Regions from separate parts of the Homo sapiens genome. Here region 2 is linked to region 1. Evidence: promoter capture Hi-C in human tissues and cell types (Jung and others, 2019). All regions are on one chromosome and are shown on one strand. Each heading gives the region's core, a stretch centred on a gene start or on the middle of the fragment in contact. The rest is flanking DNA. Distances are from core to core; before and after follow the strand shown. Region 1 holds the start of DEAF1 (DEAF1 transcription factor). Region 2 overlaps IFITM10 (interferon induced transmembrane protein 10).

Region 1 (3,326 bases), core at 801-3,300:
ATACACTTAGTTTTTTTAGAGACAGGGTTTTGCTCTGTTGCCCAGGCTGGAGTGCAGTGGCCTGATCACAGCTCACTGCAGTCTCAACCTCCTGGGCTCCAGTGATCCGCCAGCCTCAGCCTCCCACGTAGCTGGGACCACAGGCTCCCTGAGGTAATTTTTTTTTTTTTTGAGACAGAATTTCGCTCTTGTTGCCCAGGCTGCAGTGCAATGGTGCGATCTTGGCCAACTGCAACCTCCGCACCCCACCCCCCCCACCACCACCACCGGGTTCGAGCAATTCTCCTGCCTCAGACTCTCAAGTAGCTGGGATTACAGGCATGCACCATCACGCCAGGCTAATTTTGTATTTTTAGTAGAGACGGGGTTTCTCCATGTTGGTCAGGCTGGTCTTGAACCCTCGACCTCAGGTGATCCGCCCGCTTTGGCCTCCCAAAGTGCTGGGATTACAGGCGTGAGCTACTGCGCCTGGCCTTCCCCGGGGTAATTTTTAATTTTTTTTTTGTAGAAGGGGGTCTCGCTCTGTCGCCCAGGCTGGAGTGCAGTGGCGCCATCACGGCTCACTGCAACCTCGACCTCCTGGGCTCAAGTGATCCGCCAGCCTCAGCCTCCAGAATAGCTTGGCCCACAGGGGTGCGCCACCGCCTGGCTGATGTTTACAGTTTTTTTTTTATAGAGGGGGTCTTGCTATGTTGCCCAGGCTGGCCTCAAATGATCCTGCAGCCTCGGCTTCCCAAACTGTCAGGCTTACAGGCCTGAGCCACTGCGCCCAACCTAAACTTAATTTTTAACCAAATGAAAATACACAAAACAAACCTGGTTACTAGAGGCTGTCCTGCCTATGGAGTAGCCATTCTTTATTCCTTCAAAACAATGCACCTAATTACTAGAGAACACGCACGAAGGTTTGGCACTTCAGCGCCCGCGTATGGGAGTTCTGGCTGTACCCACAGACAGCAGAAGGCGGCTCCTCTGCAGGATGGCCGATTTACTGCTTTGGTCTGTCCCTTCCTCCTCTCGGAGGCGAGTCTCTCAGGCAGGACGGCTGAGGCACCGGCGCCCGCGATTTTCTTTGGCGAGAGTTCCAAGGCTACCGAAACCCTGCGCCCATCCCGCCCACGTGTCTTCACAAAAACCACGCGCGGGACAAGAGCTGCCGGGGACTGGGGCCCCCAGAGCCGCTCCGCACCCACCCTGCCCGGGGCCAGGCGCCCGCGCGCGGGGGAGCTCTTCGGGGTGCAGGACGCCCGCCACCCAGGCCAGGCCAGGCCGCGCTTCTCGATGGGGTGACGGAGCTGTCTCGCTCACGTAGAGACGGTGGCACGGCCCCGTGAGCGCACCGAAAGCGGAAACCGGATTGTCACCACAGGGAAACGCCGCGCCCGCCGCTGCAAGCCCGGAAGCCCCCACCCCGCCCGAGCTCACCTCGCCGCGGGGCCGCCATCTTACCCGCCCCGCCCGCCGGTCCGTCGCGATCCCGGCAGCCTCTCGGCCCGCGCGCTCGCGCTCCTTCGGCCATTTTCGCGTCTCCTGACGAAGGGGCCCGACCGCGCCGCGTTTCGGGAGCGGACGTCCGAGCCACGGCCGAGGCCCGATTAGTCCGTCCGGCACCGCTCGGGCACTTTCGGAAGGGAAGAGGTGGAGAACCGACGTTCGGGAGCATTCGGCCTCGGGGACATTCGGCTCGTCTCGGCTCGGCCTCGGGCTGACTCGGCTTCCGCCGGCGGCGGGAACGGGCGAAACCCGCGGCACTAAGCTCTCTCTGAGAGGCAGAATTGCGCCGGCCGCCGGCGAGAATCTGCCTAGAGCCGTCCAGCCCTGTCGGCCGGGGACGACAGCCGCCTCAGCCTGTCAGGACAGTGAGGAGAGCAGGGGCCGAGTCTCTCGGAAGCCCTCGTGAGGACTCGGACCTATTCGGACTGATTCGGCTTCCCACTTCGGGGAACTTCGACCCTCCTCGGTTCAGGACTCGGTCTCGGCTCGGCGGCTTCGTGCAGGTTCGGCTCCTACTCGGGCAGCCTCTGTTCGCCTCGGCTCCGCTCCGCGGGCGGACTCGGCTCGGCTCTGCTCGGCGGCTGGCTGCCTTTTCGGTCCCTATTCGGGCGGCGGCTTCGGGCGGCCTCGGCCCAGCTCGGGCGTCCTCTTCGGGCCCCGCTTCGGGCTCCGCGACCGGCGCTTCGGGCGGTCCCGGACGGCGCCTTCGGGAAGGCTCGGCGGAGTCCGGATGGAGGACTCGGACTCGGCGGCAAAGCAGCTGGGCCTGGCTGAGGCGGCGGCGGTGGCGGCCGCGGCCGCTGTGGCGGCGGCGGCCGCGGCCGCGGCAGGAGGCGAGGCGGAGGAGCCGGTGCTGAGCAGGGACGAGGACTCGGAGGAGGACGCAGACTCGGAGGCGGAGCGGGAGACGCCGCGGGTCACGGCAGTGGCGGTGATGGCGGCGGAGCCCGGGCACATGGACATGGGCGCCGAGGCCCTGCCCGGCCCCGACGAGGCCGCCGCTGCCGCAGCCTTCGCAGGCAAGTGCGCCCGCCGGCCTCTCGCCTCGTCCGGTTCCCGCGCGCCTACCCCGCGCGCCTGCCCCGCACAACTGTCCCAGGTGACCAGCCCGCCACACCTGTCCCTCACACCTGCTCCACGTGACCAGCCCGCTCCACCCGCCCTGCACACCTGCCCCTCACACCTGCTCCACGTGACCCGCCCGCCCCACCCGCCCTGCACACCTGCCCCACGTGACTAGCTCACCCCTCACATCTGCCTCTCACACCTGCCCCACCCGCCCCTCACACTTTCCCCACGTACCTGCTCCAGGTGACCAGCCTGCCCCACCTGCCACAAATACCTGCCTCGCACACCTGCTCGACGTTTCCAGCCTTCCCCACCTGCCCCACGTGATCGGCCTGCCCTACCTGCCCCGCACACCTGCCCCACATACCTGCCCCAGGTGACCAGCCTGCCCCACCTACCCCAAACACCTGCCCCGCACACCTGCCCCTGGTGACCTGCCTAGCCTCACCTGACCTGGCCCTGCCCTGCACACACCTGCCCCCTGCCCCCCTTTTCTTTGTGGCAGCCCCGCCTCCTACTGGTCCCCCCTGTGCAGCTCTGCCCCTGCCCTGCCTTCGTCCATCCTGGCTCCCCCCACCTGTCCTGGAGAAGCCCTGGGGTGGGTGGGCACCTGTGGTCACCAGGAACCCCCCACTTCCTGAGGGCCAGTTCAGGCATGACCTGAGCGCTGGGGAGCCAGGGGTGGGCAGCCTGCTGGAGGCCATGATGCCAGAGGTCAGCGTGGCTGTGTGGTGGCCCAGGGGGGCTGCGGAGCCACCTGTGCA
Region 2 (3,067 bases), core at 80-2,579, 1.0 Mb before region 1:
ACCATGTGGGACTCTTGAGCACTGACCCTTGAACCCAGGCAGTGGTGGGATGGGAGGGCAGGAGGCGGCGGGCTGCGAGGCTGATGCGGGGCTGCACGGAGCTGTCATTGAGCCTCTTGGAGGATGGTGGGAGAAGTGCCAGGGGCGGCTGAAAGCCTTGCCGAGACTGTGGGCAGCCTGGTTGTGGGCACTTCGGATGCTTGCACCATTAGACCCAGAGGCTTCCTGGACAAGCCTGGGCTGGAAGAGGATGGCAGAGGCTGCTGGGCCTTGGAAGAGAGAGGGTCCTGGCTTCTAGTTCCTGGGGCAGCTAAGGCCAACCCCAGTGTCCAGGTGTCTTCCATGTTATGCCTGGGAGGGAAGAAAGTAGAGGGGCAAATGCTTTCTTTGCCTATTTTCCTTAAACATTTGGTGGCAGTGCTGGTGGCTGCCTGGGACAGGGGCCAGGAGGAAACACCCCTGCATTAGGGAAGCCCTCAGCCAGCTTTTCCCTGGGATGTTCCTGCGCCTGGCTGAAGCTTTCTGAGTTCATGTTGGGGAAATGGAACGGTCACCTTCCAGCCAGTAAAGGCACCCCTAGCTCTTGGGATGTTTGTATCCAACTCCGGGCAATGTGGGGCTACAAAGGCCCCTGGCTTCCATACCCTGGGGACCGGGGGAGGGCTGGTGCTCCCGCGGTGGGTGTCCACGGTGAGGTCAGGCCCCCACAGCAGGTGCATTCTCGCCCTCAGCAGGCAGGCAAGCAGGCATCAGCTCCGGCGCTGGTCTCTGGCTTCGAAGTCTGTGTCTTTGCCTGTCTGTACTCATGCCTGACCTGCTGGCGCTCCCTGTCCACTGCACTCCTCCCACCTCATTTTTATGTGATTTTGCACAGTGCCTGGCAGACATTTGACATTCAATAAACATTGTACGAACGAAAGAATCAATCCCCCTCTCACTCTCTCTGTCCTTCTCCCTGTGTGCCTCCATATATTTGTGCATCTTTGGGGAGTCAGGTGACTTTCCCTACCCTCCCCTCTCCCCATGCTGCCCTGGTCACTGCCCTTGGGACCCCAGCCCAACAGGCCAGTTTAAAAGGATTGGGGCTTGGCTCAGTGGCTCATGCTTATAATCCCAGTGCTTTGGGAGACTGAGGCAGGAGGATTGCTTGTGCCCAGGAGCTCAAGGCTGCAGTGAGCCGTGATTGCACCACTGCACTCCAGCCTGGGTGACAGAGTGAGACCCTGTCTCAATAAATAAATAAATAAAGGATCAAGACTGAGGGGACTGTAAAGGCTGAGCCTCACTGTGCATCTGTGTGTGTGTGTGTGTGTGTGTGAGACTGTGTGCATATGTGTTCGTGTGTGTGTGTAGTGTGTGTGCCTGTGTGCTTTTGTCTGTGTATGTGGTGCATGTGTGTGTGACTGCTTCTGTGTGACTGTGTGCATGTATGTGTTGTGTGTGACTGCATGTGTGTGTGACTCTATGCATGCATGTATTATGTGCACATGTGTTTGAATGTATGTAACTGTGTGTGTGTTTGCATGTGTGTGACTGCACGTGATATTCACGTTATGTGTGCATGTGTGTGTGCCTGTGTGCATGTGTGTGTGTTGTGTGTACAAGGGTGTGCATGTATGACTGTGTGCATGTGTGTAAATGTGCTTTGTGTGAGTGTGTGTGACTGCATGCATGTGGATGTGTTGTGTATACATGTGTATGCATGCATGTGGATGTGTTGTGTGTACATGTGTATGCATGCATGTGGATGTGTTGTATGTGCATGTTTGTGACTGTGTGCATGTGTGTGACTATGTATGTGTGTGTGTGTTGTGTGTACGTGTGTGGCCGTGCATAAGTGTATATGTGCTGTGTGTGGCTGTGTGCATGTGTGTGTGACTGTGTGCATGTGTGTATTATGTATATGTGCATGTGTGTGACTGCACATGTGTGTGTTGTGTGTACATGTGTGCATGTATGTGACTGTTCATGTGTGTATTGTGTATATGTGCTGTGTGTGGCTGTGTGCATGTGTAAGATGTGTGTGCGTGTGTATTGTGTATATGTGCTGCGTGTGGCTGTGTGCATGTGTGTGTTGTGTATGTCTGCATGTGTGTATTGTGTGTGTGTGCTGTGTGTGGCTGTGTGCATGTGTGTATTGTGTATGTGTGCTGTGTGTGGCTGTGTGCATGTGTAAGATGTGTGTGCATGTGTGTATTGTGTATATGCTGTGTGTGGCTGTGTGCATGTGTGTGTGACTGTGTGCATGTGTGTATTATGTATATGTGCATGTGTGTGTCTTCACATGTGTGTGTTTTGTGTACATGTGTGCATGTATGTGACTGTGCATGTGTGTATTGTGTATATGTGCTGCGTGTGGCTGTGTGCATGTGTGTGTTGTGTATGTCTGCATGTGTGTATTGTGTGTGTGTGCATGTGTAAGATGTGTGTGCATTGGGGAGGAGGTGCTATAGGGTCATCCCCCAGCCTCCCTTCCCCTGACCACAGTGGTCCAGAGCTCTCCAGGCTCCCCTGCCCTTGCCAAGCCACTGCCCATTCCTGCAGGTGGTGGAGCTTGATGCCTCTTCTCCAGACACTGGAAATCCGCATAACATTCTTTCCTAATTGCATGTGCTCAGCTGTCCCACGGGGGCTTTAGAGACCAGCAATATACGCTCCCTGGGGTCCTCCTCCCATAGCATGCAGCTGACTAGCTCAGATGGATGGGGGCACAAGGGGCCAGGGAAGTCTCTGACCCCACAAAACCACAGGGCCCACTGAACCTCAGGATGAGAGGAACTGTCCTTGACAGGGACTGGGCGGAGAGGGGAACTGTTCTGAGACAGAAAAGGGACAGGAATCTCCTCCCCACCCCGACTTCACATCCACCTGCTGAGCTGGAGGCTTTGCAGGGGTGGTCGGGGCCGCTCGCAGCCAGGACGGGAGATGTGCTCTTGGGAGACTGGCCAGAGAGGCTGTGATGGTGGAAGAAGCAGAAGTAGTCACTGGAAACAGCATCTGAAAATGGCCCACAGCTGATAAGCTCCATCAACCCACCAATTTGAGACCAGTGAAGCCCACACGATAG

Evidence for each region. Contacts are between HindIII fragments. The study calls those that stand out against the background at their distance.
Region 2: a contact is called between a fragment that was not itself captured here and the fragment with the promoter of DEAF1 in region 1, in 1 of the 25 tissues and cell types used here (spleen).

What each region holds. Positions count from the first base shown.
Region 1 is chr11:693,946-697,271 of GRCh38, reverse strand. It overlaps DEAF1 (DEAF1 transcription factor), which reads left to right and starts at 2,050. Exons shown (of 12, transcript NM_021008.4): 1 at 2,050-2,513. The coding sequence starts at 2,225. It overlaps TMEM80 (transmembrane protein 80), which reads right to left and starts at 1,456. Exons shown (of 5, transcript NM_001042463.3): 1 at 1,426-1,456. The coding sequence starts at 1,444. RefSeq lists enhancers at 1-451, 992-1,531, 1,532-2,073, 2,074-2,613 and silencers at 1,059-1,478, 1,979-2,278, 2,289-2,408, 2,429-2,678. The HindIII fragment of the contact is 41,051 bases long and covers 1-3,326 here.
Region 2 is chr11:1,730,265-1,733,331 of GRCh38, reverse strand. It overlaps IFITM10 (interferon induced transmembrane protein 10), which reads left to right. Exons shown (of 3, transcript NM_001170820.4): 3 at 1-926. Among named protein-coding and RNA genes, the nearest start is that of IFITM10, 19 kb to the left of the region's middle. The HindIII fragment of the contact is 4,222 bases long and covers 1-3,067 here.